Regions from separate parts of the Homo sapiens genome. Here regions 1, 2 and 4 are each linked to region 3. The links are contacts of gene promoters, found by promoter capture Hi-C in human tissues and cell types (Jung and others, 2019). All regions are on one chromosome and are shown on one strand. Each heading gives the region's core, a stretch centred on a gene start or on the middle of the fragment in contact. The rest is flanking DNA. Distances are from core to core; before and after follow the strand shown.

The links. Contacts are between HindIII fragments. The study calls those that stand out against the background at their distance.
Region 1: a fragment that was not itself captured here is called in contact with the fragment with the promoter of GLIS2 in region 3 in 2 of the 25 tissues and cell types used here (dorsolateral prefrontal cortex and heart left ventricle).
Region 2: a fragment that was not itself captured here is called in contact with the fragment with the promoter of GLIS2 in region 3 in 4 of the 25 tissues and cell types used here (IMR-90 fibroblasts, aorta, dorsolateral prefrontal cortex and 1 more).
Region 4: a fragment that was not itself captured here is called in contact with the fragment with the promoter of GLIS2 in region 3 in 2 of the 25 tissues and cell types used here (aorta and stomach).

Annotation. Positions count from the first base shown.
Region 1 is chr16:3,867,500-3,871,987 of GRCh38, forward strand. All of the region lies in intron 1 of CREBBP (CREB binding lysine acetyltransferase), which reads right to left. Among named protein-coding and RNA genes, the nearest start is that of CREBBP, 11 kb to the right of the region's middle. RefSeq lists a silencer at 3,709-4,003. The HindIII fragment of the contact is 4,672 bases long and covers 1-4,488 here.
Region 2 is chr16:3,950,302-3,954,693 of GRCh38, forward strand. It overlaps TRIDDENT (TRIM28 interacting DNA damage repair enhancing non-coding transcript), which reads right to left and starts at 143. Exons shown (of 2, transcript NR_120311.1): 1 at 1-143. It also overlaps a transcript of ADCY9 not described here. The HindIII fragment of the contact is 4,154 bases long and covers 335-4,392 here.
Region 3 is chr16:4,314,029-4,318,540 of GRCh38, forward strand. It overlaps GLIS2 (GLIS family zinc finger 2), which reads left to right and starts at 2,039. Exons shown (of 7, transcript NM_032575.3): 1 at 2,039-2,226. RefSeq lists enhancers at 154-666, 667-1,179, 3,301-3,951, 3,952-4,512 and a silencer at 580-874. The HindIII fragment of the contact is 26,266 bases long and covers 1-4,512 here.
Region 4 is chr16:4,011,105-4,015,755 of GRCh38, forward strand. All of the region lies in intron 2 of ADCY9 (adenylate cyclase 9), which reads right to left. Among named protein-coding and RNA genes, the nearest start is that of TRIDDENT, 63 kb to the left of the region's middle. RefSeq lists enhancers at 1-639, 640-1,284 and a silencer at 4,184-4,478. The HindIII fragment of the contact is 9,071 bases long and covers 1-4,651 here.

The DNA.
Region 1 (4,488 bases), core at 910-3,409, 450 kb before region 3:
AACAAGAAAACTTCAATTATTCCTATTTATATAACATAGAGAAAACATTAAAATTGTTTTGTGTTATTTATCTAAATGCAGCACCAAAACATTTTACCGTTAAAAAAGAAGACTTAATTAATTAAAAGAAAGCCTGGGCCGAGCATAGTGGCTCACATCTGTAATCCCTAAACTTTGGGAGGCTGAGGTTGAAGGACTGCTTGAGCCCAGGAGCTCAAGACCAGCCTAGGCAACATAGGAAGACCCCGTATCTCTACTAAAAAAAAAAAAAAAAAAAAAATTAGCCAGGCATAGTGGCATGCACCTGTCATCCTAGCTACTTGGGAGGCTGAGGTGGGATTGCTTGAGCCCAGAAGGTGGACATTGCAGTGAGCTGTGATCAAATAAATGCACACCAGCCTGGCGGACAGAGTGAGACCCTGTCTCAAAATAAATAAAAATAAATTTAAAAAAATAGAACAAAGCCTGCATTTCTAATACTAACATTTCCAACAGCTCTGAGATATGTATCAGTCTGAAAGGCACTGATAGTAGAGTTACATAAAATGGGCTACTTAGGGCAAAAAGAGTAAGAAGAGACCATATTTGCCTGGCTACGCACAGTCCATCTCTAGAATACGTAAGAAACAGCTAACACTGGTTGCCTATGGGGAGGGGAATGACCAGTGACCCCAGAAACAGACAGGAGGAAGAGTTTTCACCAATTACTCTGCTTTTTTGGAATTCTGAACCATATGAATATATTATCTACTCACAAGAACTTAAAAAAACTTTTAAAAGAAAATTGTTTGTACAAAAATTTACTAACATCTTAAATAAGAACACTAGTTCCAGTTCTTAAGCTGCTTTTCATGGGGCCCTTTTCCTGCCAAAAACGGGGCTCAGGAGGGGAAAGCATTGTCTACTCTCCCTACAGACCTGAACTTGGATGAAAAAACACACCTTGAAAAAGCTAATCTAGACTTCTGGAAAATAAATCACAGGAGCTCCCCCAATCACTCTGGACACGGGTTTTTTAAAGCTTAATTTTGTTTTATAAGCCCTAAAAAAAAATAATAACCTGGACTCCTAGGTCTGACATTCAAGGCCCTTGGTGATGTTATCTCGCCTTCAGATGCCCAAGCTGATGCTCTACTCACCCTCAATGAGCTCTGGTGTCCTTCCTCCAACAAGCCTCCCTGACCACCCAGCCTGAGGCATCCACTTCCTTCCAGTCAGACATCGAGCTGAGTGTGAAATGCTATAGGCCACGGTGGGCACCACGGGACTGCTCACCCACCACACCACACAACTCAGAGTTCCATGAGGACAGAAGCAGCTTCTGCCACTACTGTCATCACCACAGCCCAGCAGGGTGCCCCACACGTAAAATGTGCTTAAATATTTGCTGAATAAAAGAATGAAGTGGTAGGAGTCAAGACTGGATCCCGGGCCGACCAACCCCCGCAGGGCAGAACCACACCTTTAGTCTCCACCATCTCAGAAGCAAAACCATGAGGCCTCCTAAATTCTGGTAGCCCAGTGAACATAACCCAAAAACTGTCACAAGAGCCAGACCTCCACCCTGCTATGAGTGCTGTTCCCTCTGCCTGGAACAGTACTATCTGCCATCTCCTATTCACCCTCAGGTGTCAGTGCTAACGTCACAGCCCCCGGGGACTTCCAATACCCTTCAAAACAGGCTCAGTCCCCATCTGGTGCCTCAGTCAATGCACAGTATGTCCCCTCCAAGGTCACACCTGACTGCAGTTACCTGTCCAGTATCCATCACCACCCATGAGGGCAGAGATGGGGCCTGTCACATCCCCACTGGATCGCCAGGGCCTACATCACAGCATAACAAATATTTTCTAAATTAGTGAATAATCCTGAACAGTGTGACCTAAGCCGTGAATATTTTTGAAGGAGTCTTTCATCATTTTTAATTTGGAGTCTTGCATCTTTAAAAGATGATCGTTTTAAAGGAACTTTGTCATAAATATCTAGGTGATACGTATCTTAAAGAAAACTCTAGACAAAGAGGATAAGTAAATGTACTTACAGTTGTGCTGTCCAATACCGTAGTGACTAACTACATGTGGCTATCTTCATTTACTCAAACCAGGTAACATTTAAAATTTAGTTCCTAAGTCACACTAATCACAATTCAAGTACTCAACAGCCACACGTGGCTCGTGGTTCCAGTACTGTGTCATATAGACACAGCGTAGAGCCGCCCTCCCAATAACGACCACTGGACAGCGCTGGCTTGGAGGGCATCCCGAGAACACAGGCATCCCCAAACAAGGAAACATCTCAATTCACCCTCTTCCTCCTGGGAAAGAATCCGTTCTCCCCTAAAGTTTCAGTGACTGAGAAAGCCATCAGTGAAAGCAAAACACTTGATTCTCTTGCCATCATTCAAATGATTCCCTCAGAGACTTCTCAACAGAAGTTCAACTACGGGCAGGTGTGCTCTTCAAACAAAAACCGATTCCCACAGTAGTAGAGGAACAACCACAATGACACAGAAAACCTATCAATATGTTATGTCTTTTTGTTATTTTCAATAAAGGTGACGTTCTGAATATGTAAATCAGATTTAAGTAAAGATATCCACAAATCGGGGAAAAATTTTGTCCACCACGGGGTAACTTTTACTTATAAAAAAAAAAAATCACACCAAATCTAGGAGAACAGAAAAACAGTAATCTCCATTAAAAGAATTTCCTACTATAGAATCTGCAGGAGGAGAAAAGTCACACAGTACAGCACAGAGCTGAATCTGTTCCTTTCAAGATCTGTGTAGCTGAGCCCGAGAGGCAATTGAGTTTCACTGGTATTCCTTTCAACCAACCTGACTAAACTGGACAGTGATCCCAAGGCCATTTTCTTCCCAACTCTGTTTTCAATAAAATACTATATTTATAATTTCTCTGCATTTACTTTTCCCTTTTCTCTAAGTCCTAATCTAAATCAAGCCCTTGTTCTGAAGCAATAACTAGAAACAGAGTTCCATTTAATTAAGAGTTCAATTTTCCAATAAAAAACAGTTGAACTGCAAACACAGACGGAGTAAAATGAGTCAAACGATTACCCATTTTGTAAGATTCTCGAATCTTAGTTCGTTTTCTTACAAACTGGTTCCCAAACTGCACTAGAGCTGGCACTGAAAGCCAAACAGGCAGGGGCAGAAGCTTCCCATGTATTCAGTGAGAAGCCTCCTGATTCCGGGTCAGGCTACATCATCTTAGTCCTCACTGGCCCAAGAAGTAGGTGATGGCTAATATTTTCCCATACAATTAAACAATAAAAACAGCTGCCTCAACCTGCTATATGCCAGGCACCCTAGTAGCCCCATGTACCAAGATAATCAAAGTAAGCAGAAGTAGAGCCAGGCACAGTGGCTCCATCTCACACCTGTAATTCCAGCTACTCAGGAGGCCGAGGCAGGATTGCTGAAGGATGGGAGTTCAAGACCAGCTTGGGCAAGCAAGACCCCATTGGAAAGAAGAAAAGTAATGTAAAGAAGGGGAGGGGAAGGGGAAGGGGAAGGAAGGAAAAGAAAGAAAGAGAAAAAAAGAAGGAAGGAAGGAAGGAAAAGAGAAAGAAAGAAAGAAAAAAGAAAGAAAGAAGAGAGAAGAGAAAGAAAAGAAACAAATGGAATACTGCAGGGTAAAAAGCCCCTTTTAGAGATCTCTCTCTCTCTCTCTCTCTCACTCACACACACACACACACACACACACACACACACACCCCACCCTGCAAAACTCAAATGTGATGTCACCAGCCCAAGTCACAGCGCTGCCGAGCTGGGAGCTGGGACTCACAGTCTACTCTGAGCAGGAGCCAGGGCTCCCTCCTCAGCACCACACTGACCGCCTCCCCGTATAAAAAGCTGACATTTCCTTCAACTGTGACTCACAGTTAGAAGGTTCTACTTTTAATCAGGTGACAAATACTCAAAATATTTTAATCCAAAGCAACTGGGTCAAACTCGTAGAGTCTATAATTGTCTAAGCAAACCCTAATTACCTGATAAATTTCTATAGCTCCTGAATGTCCTCATTCAGTTTGTAATCAAATACCCAAATCTCCTTATTTAAATGTTGTACAAGCCTTCTCTACATGTTATCATACAGAACAGTGACTTATTTTTCTATTTCACTGGTTATTTTAACCATAAAGTTAAAACATGTTTAGGTGGTGCAGTTTTAATAAGAAAAATCCAAACTAGGGGGAGGAGAAGCAGCTTGTGAATTATAAAAAGATTTGCTTTACAACAGAATTGTACAACTCCACTACACAACTACTTTTTCTCCTTACCACAGATTATGCAAATTCGAAAGGTTGAATTAGGTGCAACTGGAAAATATACCTACTGTATACAATATAGTACAGGCATATTAGAAAGGCAAATTAAGACATTTTCAAACAATAGCAGACAGTACAACTAGAAATGGGAAAGTAAAGTCAGATTTAATCATGTAGAATTATTTTCCCCATTAG
Region 2 (4,392 bases), core at 1,162-3,661, 360 kb before region 3:
GGGTCACCTCTCATTGTGGAAGAAGGACTAGTAAAGCCAGCTTTAAATGAACATTACTGGGTTGGCCTATGCCAGGCAGGCGCGAGGTCTCTATTCCCCATGTGACAATCAAGCTGGGTGCGTTCACGCCCAGGATGCTGGGGTTGTCCCACCTCTAGGTTTGGAGTGGGACGACGAGGAGAAGCAATTTGTTCAGGAGCAGAGAAAGTTCGCTTGGCTGTGACTCATCGCCTCTCCATTGAGAGTCTCCGGCGGGTCCGTGATCATCGGACACGATCATGATCCGTCCTCAGGCCCCGCCTGTGCAGAGTGCGCGGAGGCCAAGGAGTTATTGGCAGAAAAGCAAGAGCGGAATGAGCTTGCGTACTTGAAGTCTGTGGCCGTCTGCCAACATCTCCTTCAAATATGAACATTCTTATTTTCGCTCTGGAAGTTTTTGTCAGGTTTATTGCAAATGCAAGGGTGGTGAGCAGACAGAAAGAAAATGGTATTTACTGAGCTGGAAGGACTGTTTTCTCAACCGTTTCTCAAGAGCACGCAAGGAGACGTGCACTTTCCTGGGTGACATCAGGTTCTCCGTGGGGATTTTAATCCAAATCAGATATGGCCTTGTTTTACGAGGGATCCTCTTGGGTCTCAGGGTGTGAGGATTCATAATAAGTACACGTCCATCCAGTACATGGCGAAGACCATTGTAAGCCACCCCTGGAAACACATACAAGACAGATGGGCACGCAGTTCACAGGATAGCGCAGAATTCTAATGAATTTCATTGGCATCAAATGTTATGTTCCTGTAAACTGAGAGCCATGAAATTAGAATGAGTGCCTCACAATAGTTCAAAAGTGACTCACTTCATTGAAAAAACGTCTCGGAAACATAAATTGGTAAATCAAAACTAAAACTAGTACCCTTTAAAAAAAACTGAGAATGATGTCCCTAAGTTTTTTTTTTTTTTTTTTTGAGACGGAGTTGCGCTCTTGTTGCCCAGGCTGGAGTGCAATGGCGTGATCTCGGCTCACTGCAACCTCCGCCTCTTGGGTTCAAGTGATTGTCCTGCCTCAGCCTCCCGAGTCACTGGGATTACAGGCACCCACCACCACTCCCAGCTAATTTTTGTTATTTTTAGTAAAGAGGGGGTTTCACCATGTTGGCCAGGCTGGTCTCAAACTCCTGGCCTCAAGCAGTCCTCCTGCCTTGGCTTCCCAAAGTGCTGGGATTACAGGCATGAGCCACCGTGCCCGGCTGGGATGACTATTTTAATCTCAAGAGAGCCATCTGGGTTCCTTCCAGGGCACAATTCTATTTAAGGATATACTTTCTTATTTTTACACAAGTTTGATAACTGGATAAAAAAAAGACGAACTTTTTTTTTTTTTTTTTTGCATGGACCAAAAAATGTAGCCATAAGAGCATTTGTTAATACGCACGTCTAACATCCTCCTTCCCACCTCCCTGTGCAGCACAAAGTGGTAAAGACAGCAAGAATTTTCTTTCTAAACAGTTGGGCTGAAATTAAACAACAACAACAACAAAAACCCAAATGCCCATTCTCCTCCCAGCGGAAGTACAACCTCTCTTTGTATCATGTTACTCATCCGCTGCACACACCTGTTCATCCAACAACAGCTAACAAAAGTCAGACTCCGAGTTAAGCGATGTACACATCACAGTTTGTGCTGGAAATCTGATCCAAGCACATGGACAGAACTTTCTATGGTTCTCGGCTCCTAAGCTTGGCAGCTTGTTTTCAGCGTATTCTTAAAAACCTAGGAAACTGGCAATCATACTTCTAAGTTAAAAGATTGGGAAATCAGGCCAGTGAATAAATACTTACTTTGGATCTGCACTATTGATGAAAAATAAAAAATCACTGGAAAAAAATGAGCCCCTTTCTTCTATTTTTGCTCAAAGCAGTCCAAAGAAAACAAGTTTTGGTTCACTGCTGTCTGTGAGCTCAGTGTTGAACAAATTCCAGCAAAATCACAGAGAAAGTTGGAACCAGATTTGCAGCGCTCTATCTCATACATGTTTCTTCTTCTTCTTTTTTTTTAAGAGACAGGGTCTCGCTCTGGTGCCCAGGCTGGAGTGCAATGGCACAATCACAGTTCACTGCAGCTTTGAACTCCTGGATTCAAGCGATCCTCCTGCCTCAGGCTTCTGAATAGCTGGGACCACAGGCACGCACCACCACCCCCAGGTGCCTTTTATATCATTTGTAGAGATGGGGTCTCACTATGTTGCCCAGGGTGGAGTGCAGTGGCATGATCATAGCTCACTGCAGCCTCCAACCCCTGTTGCCAAGGCTGGTTCCAAACTCCTGGGCTCAAGTGATCCTCCCACTGTGGTCTCCTAAAGCACTGGGATTATAGACGTGAACCACCACAGCTACCCCGTGGTTCTTAAAAAGGGGTCTCCTTAAAAAGGAAGCTTCACCTTCCTTTTTGGTGTGAGGGAGACAGACCGTCAGGGAGAGGGCACTTTGTTCTTCTAATTGCCTTTCTGCAGAGGTTCCTGCTCAAGGAACGGGACGCCTAAACCTCAAATCCCCAGTGGCATTCAAGGCTGCTCGCAGGCACAGGGCGTGTTCTGGCCAATCCTGTTCGAGCAAGGGGAGCTGACATTGGCCCAGCACAGGCAGGCTGCACAGAGCTGCAGCCCATTCTTCCTGGAAGCGCCTGCATCAGAGCCAAGGACAGGCCACCTAGTAGCAGTGTCCCTGGAGCCTGGTGCTTGGCTCAGTACATTAAAATGCAACAACCAGGCCGGGTACAGCAGTTCATGCCTGTAATCCCAGCATTTTGGGAGGCTGAGGTGGGCGGATCACTTGAGGTCAGGAGTTCGAGACCAGCCTGGCCAACATGGCGAAATCCCATCTCTACTAAAAATACAAAAATTAGCTGGGCGTGGTGGCCTGTGCCTATAGTCCCAGCTACTTGGGAGGCTGAGGCAGGAGAATCACTTGAACCTGGGAGGCAGAGGTTGCAGTGAGCCGAGATCGCGCCACTACACTCCAGCCTGGGCGACAGAGCGGGGCTCCATCTCAAAAAATATATACGTATTTCACAGATACAGTCCTTCCTCGTTTTGGTAATTGACAGAGCATAAGCAGTTTTTAATTTTTTCAAATTTACAATTAGGCTCCTGCACGGCAACTCTCTTCCTGTGAACTGAAGGGAAACTTGGAGTCTCCCTCTCCACAGGGTTCTCGTCTTCTGGAAAAGAGAAGATGGGAAAATGCGGATAAGAAGAGGGTTAGAGGGGAGGAAAGAAATAAAAACCGAGCAATTTCTAGAAAACATGATGATTAAAAAAAAACCATCCACGCTTTTGGAATGGACGGATTCTTTAACACCTGTGGATTTCCTTATTCTGTGACTAGCAAGCTCCCAAGCCCACAGGTAGGAAGCTTCAGCCAGTGTGTGTGGAAAAAACGCCGGTTTTGGGATACGACGGACAAGTCAGAAGCCTGCTTGAACCGCCGTCACCCCTTTGCAGCCATCCAACACCACGAACAGCAAAAACATCAGGTTCTGGCAACCTGTGGGGACAAAGTGACCATCAGCACGGGGAGGTCGCTGTCAGAGCCGCGTCACAGCTCTTACGCCTCCCAGAATGGTTTTTGGTGTGAGGATTGCTGCATGGATTGAGAAGGTGGAATTTGATTGGAATAACTGGATCATCTCACGGATGGCTGAATCCTAAAATGCCTACAAAGCGTGAAACTGACTCAGGATTTCACAGAGGATGGTAAGGCTCTGATTTTTCCACTTGGCACTCATCTGGGTGTTATCATTAGCACTTTGGTTTAATGCTGCAGGGTGAGGAGGATGTACCCAGAGGCCCCACTGACGCACCCCGTCCAGTGGCTTCTGACATGCAGAGCTGCAGGACGGGCGTCGCTGAGCTGGCCGGGGCAGGCTGGGAGCTGAGCTTTGCAGACACTGGGTCCTGGTGAACGACGATGCTTCGACATCCACTCTTCTGGGCATTCCCAGCCTGTCCTCTGCTCTGTCCCTGCCCTCCCCTAATTCCAATTGGTGGGATTGGGTGGGGCTCTCTGGGCCCCACACTGGTCTGAGAGCCTGGCGTGCTGCTGCTGGGCCAGCCCAGGAGCGAATGGATGAAGTTCCTCTTTCTGAGCCGGGATCAGGCCCAGAACTCCCAGCTCGCAGCTCGGGCAGCTGCCTGGTGCTGAAACCAGAAGGGACCTCCGGGACTTAGTGGCAGCTTACAGGGAATGGCTAGGAGTGTCTCCCTCTGGGCCAGTGAGTAGGGTCCAGACCAGGAAAAGCGTCAGAAACGGAACACGAGGTTCACCAAGAAGCCAAGGGGGCCGGCTGAGGGCCAGCATCGCACGTTGATGCTGGGAGGTTGCTGCTTTGCAGGAGT
Region 3 (4,512 bases), core at 789-3,288:
TCCGGACGCCCGCACAGGTCGCCGGACCCAGAGAGTCGGCCCTTAATAGCCCCCTCCTGGAAGCGCTAGGTCCCGAAACTGGCCTTCCCCCGGGGCCCATCTCCCGGCTAATGTTTAACCCGGCCACACTCCACATTATCCACACTCAGGAGACCGGGGTGAGGTGAGGGTGGAGGCTGGGGGAGGTCACCTCCAAATCGCCAACTTCCGAGCCTTTGCTCCAGGCAAACGGCCTTCCTACATCCCTTCCAGGTATCAACCTACAGCTCCTGCGCACCTACTATGTGCCCATTTCCACAACAGGTCATGAGCACCTAATATGTGTTCATTAGACCAAAACATGAGCATCCATTACGAGTCCACACCTACTATGTGTGCATTCACCCACAACGTCCTGAGCACCTACTATGTGTGCATTCTCTTAAAATGCAATGAGCATCGATTGTGTGTCCACATAACCCATGAGCACCTGCTATGTGTCCATCTGGGCACCAGCCCATGAGCACCTACTATGTGTGCATTCTCTTAAAATGCAATGAGCATCGATTGTGTGTCCACATAACCCATGAGCACCTGCTATGTGTCCATCTGGGCACCAGCCCAGGAGCACCTACTATGTGCCAAGCCTTGTGCCTGCCATGGATGCCTTGTGATCAAGAGCCACGTGCTTCGGGCTCTGGCGGGGACCGCAGCATCAAATGCACGAATGAAGACGGACTTAAAACCAGCGTCAGATGCCTCACCTCTAGGGGATGCTGATTCTGGGATGCCTTTTTCGTCTCCTAGGCTCCTCAAGGCCAACTGCGCTGGGAAGAGGGGGTGTCCAACAGCAGGAGGGCTGTTTTTTTGAACTACAATTTGCCAGCATACAGCAGAGCAGCAAGAAGATAACAGGGCGGGGGGCACGGGATTAGCCCAAACAAAACACACTCAAGAACGCGAGTCTGTGGTTCAACACGAGGCAGAAAACAGCTGGGCCGGGTGCGGGGCTTCTCCCTCGCGTGTATCCGCTCACTGCACTCGCTGCCCTGGCCGCGGGCGCCGCGCAGGGTGCTGATGTCCAGGAGGGATCTAGACCTCCCGCGGCGCTCGGGCTAGTGGACGCAGGTGGTCCCAAATGCTGGGACCAAGCTAGGAACCAAGCGGAAGCTCGGATTGCTCGGCATCGGGCCTCGTCGTTATTCTACCGTGAGGGAAACTGAGACCGAGGGCACGGCAGGGAGTCGCCCGCCGTCTCACCAGCGTGAGGGGTTGCGCCGGGCCCCGAAAACTGGTTTGCGCCGCCCGGCATCGGGATCCGGGACCTCTGCCCGCCGGGCGCTGCCTGCGCGTTCCTGGAACTGGGCTGGGCGGAGAAATCAGGGCCCGCAGAGAGGCATTCCTGCCGCCTTCCCCGCCGCCCGGGGCCGCAGGGGGGCCTGGCCAAGGTGACCCCGCGGGAGGAGGCGAGGGGTCCCCGCCCGCTCCGCCGCCGCGACCTCCTCCATCTTCCCGGTCTGCGGGGCTTTTCCTCTGGGCCCGCGCGCCCGGCCCCCTCCTCGGGCTTCCCCGAGGGCGGGACGTCTCGGGCTCCCCCGCCCCCCCAGGCCACCTCCCGGCCGTGTCCTAGCGCTGCCCTCGGGCCGGGGGCGGGGCCGCGGGGGGGGGGTGGCGTGAGGATGGGGCCGAGGAGGACGCGCGCGGCTCGGCGCCCCACTTCCCTCCCTCACCCCTCCCTCCCGGTGCCCGCTCCCCGCGGCCGCGCCGCCCTCCCTTCCCCCTCCCTCGGCCCAGCGCCGGCTCCCGCCGCCCCCTCCCCCGACGCGCACGCCCCGCCTGGCAGCTGGCGCCCCGGGCCTGGGGCCGCAGCGGTGAGAGGGGTTTTGCTGGGAGGGAGGGAGCGAGCGAGCGAGGGGAGGGGTGGAGGCCGCCCCCCGCGCCCCTCCTCCTCGCCCTCCTCCGCGGCCGGCGGGCCCTCCTCCCGCCGCCTCCCTCCTCCCTCCTCCCGCCCGCCCGCCCTCCCTCTAAGACATCCCCGCACGGCCCGGCCGCCGCGGCCACCTTCCCTGCCCGAGCTGCAGATGTGGCGGAGCGGCCGGGCGCCGGGCGGCCGTGCCAGGGGAGCCCGCGCCCCGTGAGGCCTCGCGCCCCGGCCCCCGCCCGTCCCGGCCCCTCCCCCGCTCGGCTCCCCGCGCCCCCCGACCGCCGGAGCCCGCAGCCCGGATCCCGACCGCCCCCGCCGCTGAGGTAGGAAGCCCCCCGGGCGTCGCGCCGTGGGGACCGGGCCGGGGCGGGGGGGGGGGGGCCCGCCTGTCGCGCCGGGGCTGCGGGGCCCGAGGGTCTCCTCCCCCGCTCGCGTCCGCGCCCCGGGCCATTGTGAGCCCTCGCCGAGGCCCCCGCGTTCGCTCGCTCGCTGGCTCGCGCGCTCCCTCCCTCGCCGGCTCCCCGGCCGGGTCCCTCGAGCTCTCGGTCTTTCTTCTCCCTCCTTCCTTCCCTCCGTCTGGAGGCCGGGCCGAGCAGCGCCCGGGCCCGGGGCGGGCGCAAACTTCAGCTGGGAAGTTGGGCGGCCGCGGTGGGGGGCGTGCGGCGAGGTGAGAGGGGGGTACCCGGAGCCTGGGCATGAAGTTGTCCGGGGCAGCCGCCCCTCCTCTCGGCCGCGCCGGGGCTGCTGCTAGGAAGGGCTTTGGAAGGTGCCTCCTCCCTTGGCCGGGAGAGTCTCCCTCCTGCTGCCCCTCGCAAGCCCGGGTCCTTCCTTGGACCTCGGGAAGGGGCGTCCCTGGGGGGTCAGGACTGGGAGTTTGGGACAAGTCAGGCACTTGTTACTCCCCTGCGGTCCGGGTGGACGCAGGCGACCGGCCTGGCAGGGAGGAGATGGCAAGGGGTCCATACTCGCCGGAGGGCGGGTCTGGAGCGGGTGGAGGAGGGGGCGAGGCAGGTGCATCCCGAGGGAGGAGAAGCACGCACAGCTTCCCCGCTGGCCCCCTGGGATGGGGCTGGAATCCAGGCTGGCACCTGGAGGCCTTGGCATGCTGCCCTGCCCAGCAGGGTACTCGGGCCACAGCAGGGCAGCGTGCAGCCTGTCTGCCTGTCCAGGAGGGCCCGCCCAGCCTGGCCAGAGGGTGGCCGGGAAGCAATGGTTTCAAGGAGTTGCCCAGCCCTGCCCTGGGGCCTGGGAAGCTGGAAGGGATGCTGGGAGGGGCCCTGGGCCCCCAGCCATCACAGCCCAGGATCTTGGCTCTGGAGGGAACGCTTGACACTGAGGGGGCAGCCAGGCCGGCTGGGGACCTGGCCAAGGCCTGGGCTTGGTCTGGGCCATGGAAAGGGCCTGGGCCATGGTTCTTGGAGGCTGGCACCCTGGGTAGTAGGCCGCCATCCTGCGTGTCCTGGCATCCTGGAGGGAAGGTGGGGCCAGCCTGCGGCTGGGGAGGAAGCCCAGAGACACTGCGCTTCGGAGGGCCTTCCAGCCCCCGGGCTCAGGGGAGGGGAAACTGGCCCCTTGGGTCACCCCTCCCCAAGCCCCATTCTGGTGCCACAGTGCCACAGCTGTCCAGGCCCAGCCCACACACCCATCCCGGGTGACCTCGGACCTCCCCCTCTGCTTCTCCTTCTCCCCAGAGCCCAGGCTGGGCCTCCTAGCTGGCCTGGCCTGCACAGGGGGAGGGGCTGCACCTGGGAGGCCCCTCCCAGGACACCCTTTGCCAAGCTCCAGCCTGGCCCATTTCACTGCCCACCTCCAGCTCAACTTGGCCCTGTCTGCAGCCAGCCAAGCAGGAGACAGTGCCAGGGACTTGGGATGGTGTTTTGGGGGGTGTGCGGACCCCTTGGAAGCAACCCTGTTTTTCTTAGCCTTTCCTCCTCCCCCTCCTTTCCGGAGCTGCCATTAGCGCTGACCCCCTGTGCCTGCCCGCCCTTCCCTGTCTGTGACCTTTGACCTTTGGTGTTAAATCCCTCCAGCTGGGGCTCTTCGGCCCCTGAGTGACCCTGGCCCAGGCCCCCTGGGGAGTTCTCTCCTTGCTCCTGGCTCTCTACACAGGGACACCTGCCAGTCCCTCCCTCACCAATGGGGAGGGGGTGCCCTGGGAAGCCAGACAGTGAGTCACCCCACTTCCAGGCACCGCTGCTTTTGGGGTCAGTGGCTTCTGGGGATTGGCTGGAGCCCAGTCACAGCTTGGAGGGTGACCGGGGAAAGCCCCTGGCCTGGGAGTCTCCTGCCCTGGGTTCAAGTCTTGGCTCCACCACCAACTTCCAGTGGTCCTTGGGTCAGACTCCTCCCCTCTCCCGGCCTTGTCTATGAAACCAAGGGGTCAGACCAGGTGAGCTCCCAGAGTCCATGAGAAGCCTGGGTGGAGGGGGGTCAGGGGGAGGAAAGAGGGTGTAAATCCAGCAAAAGCCAACTCTCAATTATCCGAGGGTGGAGCCCGGATGAATAACTGGATGCCACAGACATCCCAAAACCTCATTGCAAACAATCGTGTGAACCGCGTCCCCCCAAAGCTTTTGTTTCTGAGAAACCCAGCTGCAACTGGGTAGCCA
Region 4 (4,651 bases), core at 1,555-4,054, 300 kb before region 3:
AGAACTGAAAGACGGGGCGAGGTCAGCCCGGCAATAGCAAACCAGGCCAGGGGCGGGGGTGGCTGACACCAGGCAGGGGGGTTACTAGAACAGGTCATGAAAGGCCCTCTACAGAGGTGGCCTGCAGCAGGCATAGCTAAAGGATGGCTTGGAGCTCAGTGTGGCTGGAGCAGAGAACGTGTGGAGGGAATGGCCAGGGCTGAGCCACAGCACCTGTGCAGGGCACTGTGTGGGCCATCCTGGGAAGCCTCCATTCTGGGGCCACGGGCAGCAGGGGGGCGGGAGGAGAAAGAAGAGCCACATAGGAGGCATGAGGCGTAGGACAAGCCAGGGAGCCGGTGGAAATGCCAGCCACAGCGGGTGGGAAGTTGGGAGGCACGGGAGTCAGGAAATAACAGTGGAAACGGGAAACCTACTCCCCACAAACTGCTGGCGAGAGGCAAGGCTCCCATTACAAGCAACCAAGCGTGATGGGCGAGGGCCTGGCTGCTGGAGGGGGCCTCGGAGTCGGGTCCAGGTCCGCCCCCTAATCCCGTGATCTAAGTGAGCTGCTTCATCTCTGCCTCTCAGTTTCCTCATCTCTAAGGGGAGGGCAGGAGCAGAGCTAGTGAGCTGCTTCATCGCTGCCTCTCAGTTTCCTCATCTCTAAGGGGAGGACAGGAGCAGGGCTAGTGAGCTGTTTCATCGCTGCCTCTCAGTTTCCTCATCTCTAAGGGGAGGACAGGAGCAGGGCTAGTGAGCTGCTTCATCGCTGCCTCTCAGTTTCCTCATCTCTAAGGCGAGGGCAGGAGGAGGGCTTACCACACAGCTCGCATGTGAGGCTTAAATGATCAACACGCACGCAGCAAGCACTCGACATTAGCTGTGATTATCGACGCAGTGTTTGATCTGCGTATCACTGGAATCTTTTTCATGCACCTTCTACATACAAAAGCATTTGCAAAACTGTTAAATCAATAATTGCTCCTGATTTGTTTCTGACTTGAGTTTTTCTTTAGGAAGCGCTGAATGACCAACCCATAGTGATAACATGATCCTACTAGCTTTACGAAGGTCAAACACACCTCCGTGTCCACAACGAGCAAAATCGGGAAGTAAATTATCTTTTTATTTATGCTTCAATATGGAAAGCTAAATTTAAAGTGAAACCTTTTGTCAGAACCAGAAGGGTTATCACCCTGACAGGTAAGGCAGAGCCCAGCTGCCTAATCACAAACGCCTGAGAAATACATCAGGACAGGTTACTGAGTTCAAGCCCAGCGAAAGTCTTAAGTCAGGAGACTCTGCAGGCGACATGATTTAATGAATAACCACACACATGGACCCTGGGGTCCAAGTTCATTAGAATGGCTCTTTTGCAGCAGAAGGTCCAAAAAAAAAAAAAAGACAGCTAAATGATTTAAGTGTAGTGTAAACAGGAGAATAATTAATATGATTTCTTATATTCTTTCCTGGTTATCCATTGATTTTAAACCTCAACAACAGCGATGTCTTTTATCAGCTTAATTTTACAAAGGCTACAGAGAGGGGTGGGCATTTCCTAATGGGCTCCTGTCTGACGGGGGAATTTGTCTATGGCTGTGTGCGTGGAGGTTAACGCAGTTAACGTTCTTAAGTATTCTTAAGTATAGTGTCACTTCTTTGAAAACTAAAACTGCACTTTGCACATAGTGGTGATCAGGTTTGGTGACCCAAGTATAGGAAGAGTGACTGACAAAGCCCATTTTGGAAAAGAGTGATGGGCGAGGCCCATTTCTGGCCTCATTTGTCCCAGTCTCTTTCTGTGGGATTCTTGCCTTGGACTGAGATACCCTCAGCCACCAAGAATCAAGGACCTGACTGCCAACTCAACAGAAAGAGAACAACAGCGAGGCACGGGGATCACAGCTGTGACCCCGGCACTCTCGGAGGCCGCGGCAGGAGGATCACTTGAGCCCAGGAGTTTGAGACCAGCCTGGACAACATAGCGAGATCCCATCTCTATAAAAAATTTAAAAATCAGCTGGGTGTGGTGGCACCTGTGGTCCCAGCTACCCAGGAGGCTAAGATGGGAGGATCACTTGAGCCCGGGAGGTTGAGGCTGCAGTGAGCTGTGAGTGCGCCGTTGCACTCCAGCCTGGGCAAGAGAGTGAGACCCTGTCTCAAAAAAAAAAAGAAAAAGAAAAACAAGCCAGGCGTGGCGGCACACGCCTGTAAATCCCAGCTACTTGGGAGGCTGAGGCAGGAGAATCGCTTAAACTTGAGAGGCGGAGGTTGCAGTGAGCTGAGATCGTGCCATTGCACTTCAGCCTGGGCAACAAGAGTGAAACTCCGTCTCAAAAAAGAAAAAAAAATTAAAAGAAAAAGAAGAAAAGAAAAACAAGAAAGAGAAGAATAATCAGGAAGGAAAGAATGTTTTAAGACATGACTTTGGGAGCCAGCCACATAGCATAACAAATGCCTAGAAGCTTACGTCACTTATGACTTAAAACAATAAACAGAAAAGAGGCAATCAGCTTGGGCTGGTTCAGAAACATTCCAAAAACGTCTTTCACTTTGCATTGCATTCTTCCTCACGACTAGGTCGGAAACGACCAAGCGGCATGAGAGTTATTTAAACTAAACTGTAATCAGCCAATAAGAAAAATAAAGATAAAAATACTCTTAATCTACCAAATAGCCAAAGCCTATGGAGTCATAGATATATTTTATAATTATCTATTCTTTCTGCGTAAGAAGAACAAAAGTTTTGGTACAAAAGAGAGAATATCTTTCATATGTTAACATTAAAATGCTCTCCGGAGGGTTGTAAGTCCTTCCTACTCATATGCACCATAAATAATCATAAGAACTGATTTGTTCTTGTTGTCCCAATATTTGATGATAAATCTCAAGTTCCTACTACAAATGGCTGCTGGTGAAACTTAACCTCTTCTTAACAAATGAAGTCCCAGGTCAGGCGCGGTAGCTCACTCCTGTAATCCCAGCACTTAGGGAGGCCGAGACGGGAGCATCAGTTGTGCTCAGGAGTTTGAGACCAGCCTGGCCAACATGGCGAAATCCCGTCTCTACTAAAAATACAAAAATTAACTGGGCGTGGTGGCACATGCCTGTAATCCCAGCTACTCAGGAGGTTGAGGCAGGAGAATTGCTTGAACCCAGGAGGCGGAGGTTGCAGTCAGCCGAGATCGCACCATTGCACTCCAGCCTGGGTGACAGAGTGAGACTTTGTCTCAAAAAAGAAAAAAAAAAAAAAAGAAGTCCCAAATAATAAAATATGAGATGGATTTATGGAAGAAAGTGAAAGAAACAAAGGGTAGGCACCTTGCCTGTTTAATTTGATCTTCTGCTTAACCAAAAAAAAATTTTTTTGTTTTTTTTTGAGACAGAGTCTTGCTCTGTTGCCCAGGCTGGAGCGTAGTGGCGCGATCTCAGCTCACTGCAACCTCCGCCTCCCGGGTTCAAGGAATACTCCTGCCTCAGCCTCCTGAGTAGCTGGAATTACAGGTGTGTGCCACCATGCCTGGCTAATTTTTGTGTTTTTAGCAGAGAGGGGGTTTTGCCATGCTGGACAGGCTGGTCTCGAACTCCTGACCTCAAATGATCCGCCTGCCTCTGTCTCCCAAAGTGCTGGGATTAAAGGCGTGAGCCACCACACCCAGCCAGAAAATAAAATTTTAGAGCATGTGCACGCATTCTCTCTCTCTCTCCCTCCCGCTTCCCCACCCCTGCTTCTAAACAGGTACCTTCTATACCCAGCTTCCCTCTCTCTCCCAGTAATGGCTAAACAGCTGCCATCACAGCCAAATGGGAATGACAGGCATCCCCTGAGTGACCACATTCCCCTGTTTTGGCCTTTTTTTTTTTTTTTTTTTTGAGACAGAGTCTCGCTGTGTGGCCCAGGCTGGAGTACAGTGGCTCCCTCAGCTCACTGCAAGCTCTGCCTCCCGGGTTCACGCCATTCTCCTGCCTCAGCCTCCCGAGCAGCTGGGACTACAGGCACCCACCACTATGCCTGGCTAATTTTTTTTGTATTTTTAGTAGAGATGGGGTTTCACCGTGTTAGCCAGGATGGTCTCGATCTCCTGACCTCATGATCCGCCCACCTCAGCCTCCCAAAGTGCTGGGATTACAGGCGTGAGCGACCGTGCCTGGCTTGGCTTCTTATCTTCTGTATTCCGAGTTAATAAATGCCCCACTGCTAAATGCTACATTCCAGAATGCTAACATAGGGAGAGTCCAGGAGTCCACACACTTCAGAGACCTTCGCCTCCCACCTCTAAGAAACCTCTTGAATTAGGGTTTACTAGCACGAGCCTTCACAAAGACTGTAGAAATGAGTCTCTGAGAGACGACACCCAGCACACCCAGCACACCCAGCACACCAGCGAACAGCCCACCAGGTGCTATCGCTGTCATTCATTTGCTCATTCGCTCGTTCATGCACCCAGCAGACTAAATGTTTACTGAGTACTTACCGAAGGTTAGGATCTGGGCTAAGGGTTGAAAGAAATAAATAGGTTAAAAAAGAAAAAAAGCCACCTAGGTGACTTTCACTCCAATGCTTGACCTCAGTTCCCTTGTCTAGATAATGGAAATGCTGGCCGGCGCGGTGACTCACGCCTATAATCCCAGGACTTTGAGAGGCCGAGGTGGGCAGATCACTTGAGGT